4 separate regions of the Homo sapiens genome follow, and regions 2, 3 and 4 are each linked to region 1. The links are contacts of gene promoters, found by promoter capture Hi-C in blood cells and fetal thymus (Javierre and others, 2016). All regions are on one chromosome and are shown on one strand. Each heading gives the region's core, a stretch centred on a gene start or on the middle of the fragment in contact. The rest is flanking DNA. Distances are from core to core; before and after follow the strand shown.

Evidence for each region. Contacts are between HindIII fragments. The CHiCAGO score rates a contact against its expected background, and 5 or more counts as called.
Region 2: a contact is called between the fragment with the promoter of IL10RB here and the fragment with the promoter of OLIG1 in region 1, in 5 of 17 cell types (neutrophils, non-activated CD4 T cells, erythroblasts and 2 more). The highest score is 9.0, in neutrophils.
Region 3: a fragment that was not itself captured here is called in contact with the fragment with the promoter of OLIG1 in region 1 in 1 of 17 cell types (naive CD4 T cells); the score reaches 5.4 in naive CD4 T cells.
Region 4: a contact is called between a fragment that was not itself captured here and the fragment with the promoter of OLIG1 in region 1, in 6 of 17 cell types (M1 macrophages, M0 macrophages, naive CD4 T cells and 3 more). The highest score is 8.0, in M1 macrophages.

The regions. Positions count from the first base shown.
Region 1 is chr21:33,068,832-33,071,531 of GRCh38, forward strand. OLIG1 (oligodendrocyte transcription factor 1) reads left to right here and starts at 1,310. Exons shown (of 1, transcript NM_138983.3): 1 at 1,310-2,700. The coding sequence starts at 1,416. The coding sequence ends at 2,231. The HindIII fragment of the contact is 4,947 bases long and covers 1-2,700 here.
Region 2 is chr21:33,265,096-33,267,795 of GRCh38, forward strand. IL10RB (interleukin 10 receptor subunit beta) reads left to right here and starts at 1,272. Exons shown (of 7, transcript NM_000628.5): 1 at 1,272-1,419. The coding sequence starts at 1,371. All of the region lies in intron 7 of IFNAR2-IL10RB (IFNAR2-IL10RB readthrough), which reads left to right. It overlaps IFNAR2 (interferon alpha and beta receptor subunit 2), which reads left to right. Exons shown (of 9, transcript NM_001289125.3): 9 at 1-569. IL10RB-DT (IL10RB divergent transcript) reads right to left here and starts at 1,165. Exons shown (of 2, transcript NR_038974.1): 1 at 968-1,165; 2 at 537-807. RefSeq lists enhancers at 788-847, 878-947 and a silencer at 1,118-1,527. The HindIII fragment of the contact is 8,663 bases long and covers 1,129-2,700 here.
Region 3 is chr21:32,868,226-32,871,136 of GRCh38, forward strand. No RefSeq gene overlaps it. Among named protein-coding and RNA genes, the nearest start is that of EPCIP, 56 kb to the left of the region's middle. The HindIII fragment of the contact is 4,133 bases long and covers 1-2,911 here.
Region 4 is chr21:32,836,909-32,839,608 of GRCh38, forward strand. No RefSeq gene overlaps it. Among named protein-coding and RNA genes, the nearest start is that of EPCIP, 25 kb to the left of the region's middle. The HindIII fragment of the contact is 1,145 bases long and covers 843-1,987 here.

The DNA of each region.
Region 1 (2,700 bases), core at 60-2,559:
GCAAATATTGGTGGAAGAAAACCAGAACAAAGCAGCCCTGAAACCAGCAAGCACAGCCACCAAGATGCCCTCTTCCCCAGGACATTGACAAGTTATAGTAGCATGCACTGGTGCTGGGGGCAGAAAATGTCCATAGACACCAAGTAATGCTATTCTATTTGGCAAATAAAATGATTCATTCCCACCCTCAACCGATAGGACTATGTGGGTGTTTTGTTTTGTTTCTAATAAGAGGCCAATTTCTGAGTGACTTTTGCTTAAGCAAATGTCAAGTTGCTGATAGACCATCCCTTTCGGGGAGGATAGAAACCCGACCCAAAGGCTCCTTTGTCCCTAAAGACCTTTCAATCAGAGGGATGGGGAAGGAGGTTGGGAGCAGCAGGGAGGAAATATCCTAATGCTACTTGTCATTTAGTCCAGAAATTTAGCGACCTGAACCTGGCAGGAAATTATGTATTTTAAGAAAAAAAAAACATGATACACTCATGTTCATAGCAGCATAATTCGCAACAACCAAAAGCACCCCAAATGTCCATCAACGAATGAATGGATAAACCAAATGTGGTATATCCATATACTGGAATATTATTCAGCCTTGAAAAGGAAGAAACTTTGATACATGCTACAACATGGATAAACCTTGACGACAATATGCTAAGTGAAAGAAGCCAGTCACTAAAAGACAAGTGCTGTATGATTCTACTTATATGAGGGACCTAGAGTAGAACAAATTCATAGAGACAGAACAGAAGAGTGAATTCCAGGAACTTGGGTCGGGGGGAGTGGGGAGTTGTTTAATGGGTGGAGCTTCAGGGTTGCAAGTTGAAAAGAGTTCTGGAGATGGGTTGCACAACAATGTGAATTTAATTTAAATCAATTTAATGTGCACACTAATGCATATAACATTACTGAACAGTACTCTAAACATAAGACGGTAAATTTTATGTTATGAATATGTGATCACAGTTAAAAAAAAATATGAGGGAGGTTGTTTTTGAGTAGACAGTTGCTGGAGGAAGGCACGTGAGTTGCAGCCTGACCAGTGCGACCAGTCCTCCTTCAACAGCCCCGCTTGCCTTGAAAAGGCGCCCTTACTCCGCTCAGGGGGCCTGTCCCGCGCGGCTGGCACAGGCGCTCACAATAACCTCCTAAAGCGGTGCCAGCCGCACCTCCGCGCGGCCCCGGCACAAGCAGCCAATGAACACGCGGCTGCGCCCGGCCTCGCGCCTCCATTGGCTGCGCCCCGCCACCCGCTGCCCCGCAGGTTCCCAAGCCGGGTTTAAAGGGGTAGGGCGCGGGCCAGGGCCCCACCATCGTTTCCCCGCGCGCAGGTCCGCGGGGAGGGGCGGCCTGCCGACCGGCCCACCCCAGGGCGTTCCTGAAGGGCGTCCTCGGCCGCCCCCACCGCCTCCCAGATGTACTATGCGGTTTCCCAGGCGCGCGTGAACGCGGTCCCCGGGACCATGCTGCGGCCACAGCGGCCCGGAGACTTGCAGCTCGGGGCCTCCCTCTACGAGCTGGTGGGCTACAGGCAGCCGCCCTCCTCCTCCTCCTCCTCCACCTCCTCCACCTCCTCCACTTCCTCCTCCTCCACGACGGCCCCCCTCCTCCCCAAGGCTGCGCGCGAGAAGCCGGAGGCGCCGGCCGAGCCTCCAGGCCCCGGGCCCGGGTCAGGCGCGCACCCGGGCGGCAGCGCCCGGCCGGACGCCAAGGAGGAGCAGCAGCAGCAGCTGCGGCGCAAGATCAACAGCCGCGAGCGGAAGCGCATGCAGGACCTGAACCTGGCCATGGACGCCCTGCGCGAGGTCATCCTGCCCTACTCAGCGGCGCACTGCCAGGGCGCGCCCGGCCGCAAGCTCTCCAAGATAGCCACGCTGCTGCTCGCCCGCAACTACATCCTACTGCTGGGCAGCTCGCTGCAGGAGCTGCGCCGCGCGCTGGGCGAGGGCGCCGGGCCCGCCGCGCCGCGCCTGCTGCTGGCCGGGCTGCCCCTGCTCGCCGCCGCGCCCGGCTCCGTGCTGCTGGCGCCCGGCGCCGTAGGACCCCCCGACGCGCTGCGCCCCGCCAAGTACCTGTCGCTGGCGCTGGACGAGCCGCCGTGCGGCCAGTTCGCTCTCCCCGGCGGCGGCGCAGGCGGCCCCGGCCTCTGCACCTGCGCCGTGTGCAAGTTCCCGCACCTGGTCCCGGCCAGCCTGGGCCTGGCCGCCGTGCAGGCGCAATTCTCCAAGTGAGGGCGGGCCTGGGCCTGGGGCGCGACCTCGGCCCGGCCTCCCTTCGCTCAGCTTCTCCGCGCCCCTGCTCCCTGCGTCTGGGAGAGCGAGGCCGAGCAAGGAAAGCATTTCGAACCTTCCAGTCCAGAGGAAGGGACTGTCGGGCACCCCCTTCCCCGCCCCCACCCCTGGGACGTTAAAGTGACCAGAGCGGATGTTCGATGGCGCCTCGGGGCAGTTTGGGGTTCTGGGTCGGTTCCAGCGGCTTTAGGCAGAAAGTGCTCGCTCTCACCCAGCACATCTCTCTCCTTGTCCCTGGAGTTGCGCGCTTCGCGGGGCCGATGTAGAACTTAGGGCGCCTTGCCGTGGTTGGCGCGCCCCGGGTGCAGCGAGAGGCCATCCCCGAGCGCTACCTCCCCGGAGCGGAGCACGCCGGCTCCCAGTACTAGGGGCTGCGCTCGAGCAGTGGCGGGGGCGGAGGGGTGGTTCT
Region 2 (2,700 bases), core at 22-2,521, 200 kb after region 1:
GCATTTGACTTAGCCTTTCTGAGCCTCAGGTTTTTTGTTTCTGAAGTAAAAGGATTGGACTAGGTAATCTCCAAGATCCTAGGAACCCAGGAGAAAGATGAGAAAATGTACAAGAATGAACACTCAGGTGGAAATGCTGCAATCCTGAGAAGCTCCCAGGATGAATGAAAGGCACAGGACCTCTTACCCCTCACCCCTGCCCCCCTCAAGAGCTGGTTTCTCAAACCTTTCTCTTAGGCCCCTTCAAAGGGGGAAAACTAAAAATTATACAAGTTATAGTTCAAGGACTTTAAATAGATTATTTATATGATTGCTCATAAGGATGAGGCTGTGAGGAGGGAACACCTTATTTAATCTAATGAAATTCCATAGGAAAGAGGCCTTTTGTATATTGAATCAATTTATCTGCCTTCTCAGTGCATCTGTCATATTCTGAAAGATTCTGGGTTGATCTTTTGCGATAACCTCTATGGCTGTGAGTGTGTGTGTGTGTTTGTGTATTTTTTAACATTTTGTATAATGATTGGAGGTTGGTAAAAAGTAACACAACAGTACTTTTTTAATACAAACTTGGTGTGGTCTTGAGTTGTCTTCCATTGGAGAGCGTACGTGTGCCACAGATTGGTGCACCTGCCGGCATCTCTAGGATTGCACCAACTCCCTCTAGCTCTTCTTGGTGGCCTGCAGGGGCCTAGGGCGCATTCACTTCCCTCTGCTTGACTTTACGTGGTGTTCTAGCGTCAGACATCAGGCGATGCCGTGCATTACCCAAGACACTGGACAGCTCCGGATCTTCCCGTCTAACCACTAATCAAGTTAAAAAGAGGAAATTAACGCTTTCTTAGTAGTCTCTGAAAGAAACTAGTTATTTGCGTAAAGATGACTTGGTTTTGTGTTGTTTATCCCTGGGGAGAAGGGTAAAGAAGACCCTCAAACTGGATTTGCTGCTGAAGTGCTTTTAACTCACCTGTGCGGAGAGCGGACTTCAAGAGAGGGCGTGCCGGTGCTCCGGACAAAACCTGGGGAATACTGAAAGCCACCACCACCACCGTCATTCCAGCATGCAGATCTCAGTCCTGGGTTGGTGTTGTAGGGCATTTATTTATTTGACTTGACGGCGCCTTTCAAAGCTTGCGAGGATCCCTTCCTCTTCCTCGTGTGCATCTGCCAAGCCTGTGCCCCGCGCCTCGCGGGTGGACCCGGGCTGGTGGGCGGGGCCTGCAGCGGGGTGGGAGCCCGGTCGCCCGGCCCCTCCCCACCCCGCCCCGCCCATCTCCGCTGGTTCCCGGAAGCCGCCGCGGACAAGCTCTCCCGGGCGCGGGCGGGGGTCGTGTGCTTGGAGGAAGCCGCGGAACCCCCAGCGTCCGTCCATGGCGTGGAGCCTTGGGAGCTGGCTGGGTGGCTGCCTGCTGGTGTCAGGTGAGGGGTCCGCGGGGAGGGGGCGCGCTTGGGAACCGGGAGGCCCCGCGAGATGCCGCCCCTGATCCCATCCCTGGGCGCCCTGCAAGTGACTTAAGAGCCTTCGGGGCCTCGGGAGAGAAGATGCAAACGCCACGGCCGGCTGCTGAGACGCAACTAGGCTGCTGCTGCCGTCGATTCTGTAACAGGAGAAAGCCCCATCCGCGCCCGGATTACAGACCGTCTGGGCCCTAAACTCAGGGGGAGACTCCCGGCGTCTTTTGATTCCCTGTCCTCCTGCAGCTCTCTGCTGGCGGGCGTCTAAATAAAGTAGCTTCCCCAAAAGACCCAAGATCCCACCGTGGCTGTCATCTGACCCTTCTGGAGACTATCAGTTCAAGTGGAGGCCCCCACCAGTCCCCGAGTGCCCTGACAGCCCTCCCTGACCCCAAGTCTGCCCCCTCAGTGCCAGCCCTCCCTACAGATGTGCCTCCCATCACCCGCTGCACCTCCCCTCCTTCCGGTTCAGGCCCGAGCACCCTGAAATCTGGATTCTGTCCCCCAGCGCCCCAGCTCCATGGCTTCTAAACCTAAATCCATTGAAACCTTTTCTGTCCTCTAAATTGACTGCCTAGGTTCCAATAACACCATGGTCACCTCCTTCCTTTCTCATGAACTCTTCCCTGGCCTTCCGGGATACCCCTCCGGTTTCCCGCCCTGTCAGGCTGTCTCTGCTTGGGACCCTCCTGCTCTGTCAGGTTTCTATGTAGCTAATTGTGATGCCCAAGGCCTTTTCTCTCCTTCCCTGGCACTGTTCCTTTGGGGGATTTCAGCCAAACCCTGGCATTAAACACGGGCTATAGGCCCATGACTCGCACATTTATATCTCTCTTGGTACCAGTTGGGTGATGGGTGGTGGTTTATTATAGTCTTCTACTTTTCTACTTGCATGTAGGTTTCAAATTTTCTTTTCTTTCTTTCTTCTTCCGTTTTTTTTTTTGTTTGTTTGTTTTTTTGTTTTTTTGTTTTTTTTTGAGACAGGGTTTTGCTCTGTTGCTGTGGCCCAGGCTGGAGTGCAGTGGCTTGATCTTGCCTCACTGCCACCTCCGCCTCCCGGGTTCAAGCGATTTTCCTCCCTCAGCCTCCCGAGTAGCTGGAATTACAGGTGTGTGCCACTACGCCTGGCTAATTTTTGTATTTTTATTGGAGATGGGGTTTCGCCATGTTGGCCAGGCTGGTCTCGAACTCCTGACCTCAGGTGATTCACCTTCCTCAGCCTCCCAAAGAGCTGGGATTACAGGC
Region 3 (2,911 bases), core at 152-2,651, 200 kb before region 1:
GGAAAACAGAAGTATGTGAAAAGAATTGCTAAGTGACTGATAAATAGGCTTAAGTTATTTAAACTGGCACTGAGCGCAACTTAAACAGTATGTTTTGCATCATCTAAATTTCTAAATACCTGGAGTATATTTGTAAACATGGCAATCTAACATGTTATTGAACAGCACATTCATATTCAAATTAGCATAAACGAGGATTTAACAGCTGATTGCACAGCGTGAATGATAGTAACTAATTGTCAAGTTGGAAAGTTGCACAGATAATAGTACTAATGCGATCAGCACACAGCAATATGACTTACAGTAGCAAATTCACAAATTTTCAGCTTGCTGCCCAAGTCCTGTACATAAAAGAAGATTCTGAATTAAGGCAATGTGGCCAAAATGGGCAGTCAGAAGGGAAAAGAAGAGAGAGAAGGAAGAATCGAGCTAGGTTTGAGGGGCGGTGTGAAACTTTTCTTTCCTCCATGCAAGCCTTCACCTCTTTTATAACAGTCATCAATGGGGCTCCCTGGCCATTCAGTGCTGTCCCTCTTATAGGAAGCAATTGTTCAGAGGTGTGGCTCATTTCAGGCATTAATCTCTGATGAATGGCGGCTGTGCCTGGAGCCTGCAGGCAGCTGGTCAGTGGAATGTAACAATGACCACAGGAGGAGAATGGGCAAATGCTTCACTGCAGATGCTGCATCCCCAACATTGACCTTGGTCATTTCCCTCCCAGGGTGGCGTGGCCCCTCGCAGCAGGAGCCTGGCTTTCTGAACAACTGCCATTGTGGGCAAGGTGGCAGCTACCTGCGGGATTTGTCCCCTCCTAATAACATTTAGACCCAACAGGTGGTCACAATGAGGGGTGGAAATTGAGGCAAACGTGGACAAGACTGCAGAAGGCAAAACACAAAAACAAAACCCCTAATTTTCAGGGAGGAACTTTGTTGCAGAGATTAGCGACTACATGCTCAGCAGGTCTGGTCGGAGGATCTGAAGTCCGGGTGTTGAGCAGCCATCAGGGGAAGTGGCTGTTCTTTCAGCCCAGGGCTTGCCTCCGGCATGTCCTCCATCCACTGGTCACCAGCCTGCAATGTTAGCCAGGAGTACTAGGGACACTTTGCCCCAAGGTATTTGCAGAACAGTGGGAGGAGGAGAAATGTGACAAATAATTTGGGTCTCTGCCCACTCCTAGTGCCTTCTATGCCTTTAAATCCCTCTACACCCCACCAGGAAATATATGTCCCTATCCTTATCCCTTCTCCCCATCCCGATCTCCATCCCCATCCCCATCTCCACCTCTCTGTACCTTCACCTCTACCTCCATCAGTCTATCATACCTATCTATTATCTATCTATCCATCTATCATACCTGTCTCTATGATCTCTATCATTGCTATCTCTATCATATCTATCTCTATAATCTCTATCATTGCTCTATCTATCTATCTATCTATCTATCTATCTATCTATCTATCCATCTATCTGATATAGTTGGGCTGTGTGTCCCCCTCCCAAATCTCATCTCAAATTGTAATCCCCATAATCCCCACGTGTCAAGGGAGGACCTGGTGGGAGGTGATTGGATCTTGAGGGCAGTTTCCCCCATGCTGTTCTCATGACAGTGAGTGAGTTCTCACGAGAGTGAATGGTTTCATAAGTGTTTGGCAGTTCCTCCTGATCTCTCTCTTTCCTGCCTCCTTGTGAAGAAGGTTGCCTGCTTCTCCTTCTCCTTCCGCCATGATTGTAAGTTTCCTGAAGACTCCCCAGCTATGCAGAACTGTGAGTCAATTAAATCTCTTTCCTTTATAAATTATCCAGTTTTAGGTATTTCTTTGTAGCAGTGTGGAAATGGAATGATACACTATATATCAATCTCTATCATCTATCTCTATTTATCATGCTTATCTGTCTACCTATCTACCATATCTATGATATCTATCATTATCTAACTATCTGTAGCTACTATCTATTGATCTATTTATCTATATCTACTATCTATCTATCATTTCTGTATCTCTGCCATCTCTACCTATCTGTCTATCATCTATCTGTTTCTATTATCTACTATCTACCTATCTAACACAGAAACATAGATTTGGTCATGTACTACTTATTACTTCTATGCCTTTAATGACTCTAACCATTATTGACTCTGCATTGACAACAAAAAGTCTGAACTTTTAACAAGGATTGAAAGTCTTTCACAATCTGTCTTCACCTTGGCTTTTTAGCATCTTCTTTCCCTCTCCACTCCCCACAACAGGTGACAGATACTGTGCTAGGTACAGTATGTCCTGTACTTCCTCCCTCTCCACTAACCACCCTCATCACCCCTCTCACTGCCTCCAATTTCCTTCCCCCCAGGGCCTGGTCTCAGAGCCACACTAGGCCATGGGACTCTTGTGTCCCTGCCCCAACTCTGCTCTTCCCCCTCTGGCCGCCATCCTTGCGGTCTCCTCTCGAGACTTCTTTTCTCTGTGAACCCCTGTCTCGCTGCACTAATGGCTTCTTCTTCAGAGCTCCCGCCTGTCGAGAGCCAAACATGGCTGCCTGTCTGCTGGTCTGAGGATTCCTTTCTCACTGTACCCCAGGGCCCAGGAGCATTTCCAGTAGAATAATGTGTGTGTGGGGGGCAGGGGTAGGTGGGGGGATGAGTGTAGATTGCCTTGCCTGCCTGCAGGGAAGCCAAGGCCTCAGGCTGTAGAGCCAGGCAGCTGCTGGTCCTAGCTGCACCACTTACCAGCTGTGTCCTCTGGGGCCAGTGTCCTCATCTCTCTGAACCTCTTTCGTCAACTGTACAGTGGAGCTCATAACAGCGCCTTCCTCACAAGGTTGCTCTGAGGAGTGAAGGAATGAATGCAGGTGCAGGGCTTAGAAGAGAGCTTAGCACACCGTAGGTGCTCAGTTGGCAGAATGTATGTGA
Region 4 (2,700 bases), core at 165-2,664, 230 kb before region 1:
CCGTTATTAAAGACAATATTGGTCACCATGGAAACTATTTTTTTAATACTGTTCTAGGAGTACTGGCCAGTGCAATTAGATAAGAGGAAAAAAAGCTGTAAATATGGGGAAAATTATTTGCAGATTACATCATTATATATCTCTAAAATCCATATAAATCAATTGAAAAGCTGTTAGAAATAATATGACTAAGTACCTGGTTATAAAGTTAGTTATACAAAAATTAATAGGCTTTTTCTGTACATAAATATAATGGGATGAATTGATCAATTTCAAGTCTGATTGGCTGGATGATTTTTTTTTCCTCTGCAAACCAGACCTTCTCTGCCTCTGAGCAGTGGTCTGTAACAGGATGAATTTCTGTTGGATCAGCTGAAGTGGTGGCTTGGGCAGTGAGGCAATTCTTCATCAAGACATACCTTTTTGTTGCTTCTAATTACCTGCTGGCAGGAACTAAAAGTGTGTCTCTTGTATGCATGCCATGTGTGTAAAATTAGAGTCTTTGAAATTGTTCAAATAAAGAGGATTAGTTATAGTTGTAGGGAGATATAAAGACTAAGCCAAAAGAAGCAGAGTTTATCTGCCTTCACACTTCACCCATCTGTTAACCCGGCTGAGACACATTTTCTTGTAGCATTAGTATTTTATGCACTGTTTTTCTTGATATAGTAACAGATTTAATTCATTCTTTATGGTAATAGATCCCTTGTATCCATAAAGAAAGAACATATTCCATCATTACCTTAATATCATGTCTAATACAGAGTGGCCGTACAATTGGAAAGTTATTTCTCAGACCACTAAACTTACACATAAATGTTAAACACTGTATATTACTTTTAAGCTTACTTTTGATCTGCTATCAAACCTAAGAAGTTGTTTTATTTTGATTAACTCTATATAATAGTTAATTTTTTTCCTCTAAAATGTGTTTTAAAGGCTGAAGCTGTATTTGACATCATTTTTAAAGCTATGTGATTTATTCTTTTTTATTCTCCACTGTCAAATATACATATTTGAAGATATGTATGGTAATACCATTTTCAAGCACTAGCTAGTTTAAGGAGCATAGAGCATGGTAAGTGATATAAAACTTCATTCACCCATAAACCCCAAACCCCTAGTACTGAATGCCCACATATATCATCCTTACTATCAGAGAAATTATGTTTATAACATATGCTGAGTTCAAGACCAGCCTGGGCAACATGGCAAAATCCCACCTCTATGAAAAAATATGAAAATCAGCCAGGTGTGGTGGCGCACCTGTAGTCCCAGCTACCTGGGGGGCTGAGATGGGAGGATAACCTGAGCCCTGGCAGGTCAAGGCTGCAGTGAGCCATGATTGTGCCACTGCATTCCAGCCTGGGTGACAGAGTGAGACCCTGTCTCAAAAAAAAACAAAAGAGAAAAGCATTCAGCTTTTTGCTTCCTACATGTATGTCACCACATAAACAAAGGAAAGTGAGACTCAAGTTACCGTAAAAGAGTCCTTCACTGGAAGCAAATCCTCAACTGTTTTAGAAAAATGAGTTTATGATCATTATTATTTTGCTAAAAGGATTCTTTATTTCATCACAGGAACCTTCTACTAACCCCCTTTAGTCTAAAAAAGCTCTAATCTATAAAAATTAAAAATATATAGATCAATTTGATCCTTATAGTTTATCCATCCAATAATTTTTTGGTTAATATTTGCATGGCAGATAAATCTTTACTTCCCTTATTTCTACCTCCTGTATTGAGTGCTCAATCAACTTTTAAATAAATTATCACATGTATATATACATAATAAGATTACTTAACATTCCTATGTTGAATTTTGAATTTGTTTCATTTGTTCATTCATTCTTACATCCAACAGATATGGATTGCAAACCTACTACATGGCAAGCATAAGTGCCCCGGGGTTATGGCAGTGAACAAAATTCTTATCCTCATACAGTTTATCTTCTGATTTGGTGGATATGAGAAACTGGTGAACTTAAGCTTAAAATCAATCAGATGCTGAGTTTGTTATTAAAAAACAGAAAAGAGAGCTCAGGTTAAATACATGCACTAGCTAATCTAAATCTTTCTTGGAAGTAGACTTGGTACTAGTCTCTCAATTATCAATCATTTGGGCATTCTGTGATGATTTTATTATATCCTTAATTGCATTGCAGAAATGGAAAAAAAATTATCTCTTCCAATTGCCGTTCCCATCTGATGAGTCCTTCATGGGAGCAACAAGCAGCTGATTTGCCATCAGCTTTGTACCAGTGTAGGGGCTATTTTGGCAACAACATATGCTTTGGTGTCAGAGTAACTGACCTTCGAATCTTAGCTCTTACTATGATATTGGGCTAGTTACTTGATTTCTCTGAGCCCATTCTTCCATCTGTTAAACAGGCATATTAATCCTGCTTTAAAGGAGTATAATTCAGATTAATGAAATAATCGGTGTATAGTACCTGGCAGGTCAGAGCTCCCCTACCCAAGGTCCCCATTTAGTGGCAGAGCCAGGATTAGATCCCACATCACCTCACTCTGGTGCCAGTCCTTGTCTCGTACCATGTTTACATTTAATAATCTCTGGTGATTTTACTCACATGACGAGACAATAGATTTATTCATCATTTATTAAGAAGACATTGAGTTCTTTGCTGTGCTGCCTCTTTGACCTCTCTGGGCCAAAAATGAGGGAGTTGTATGAGGCTC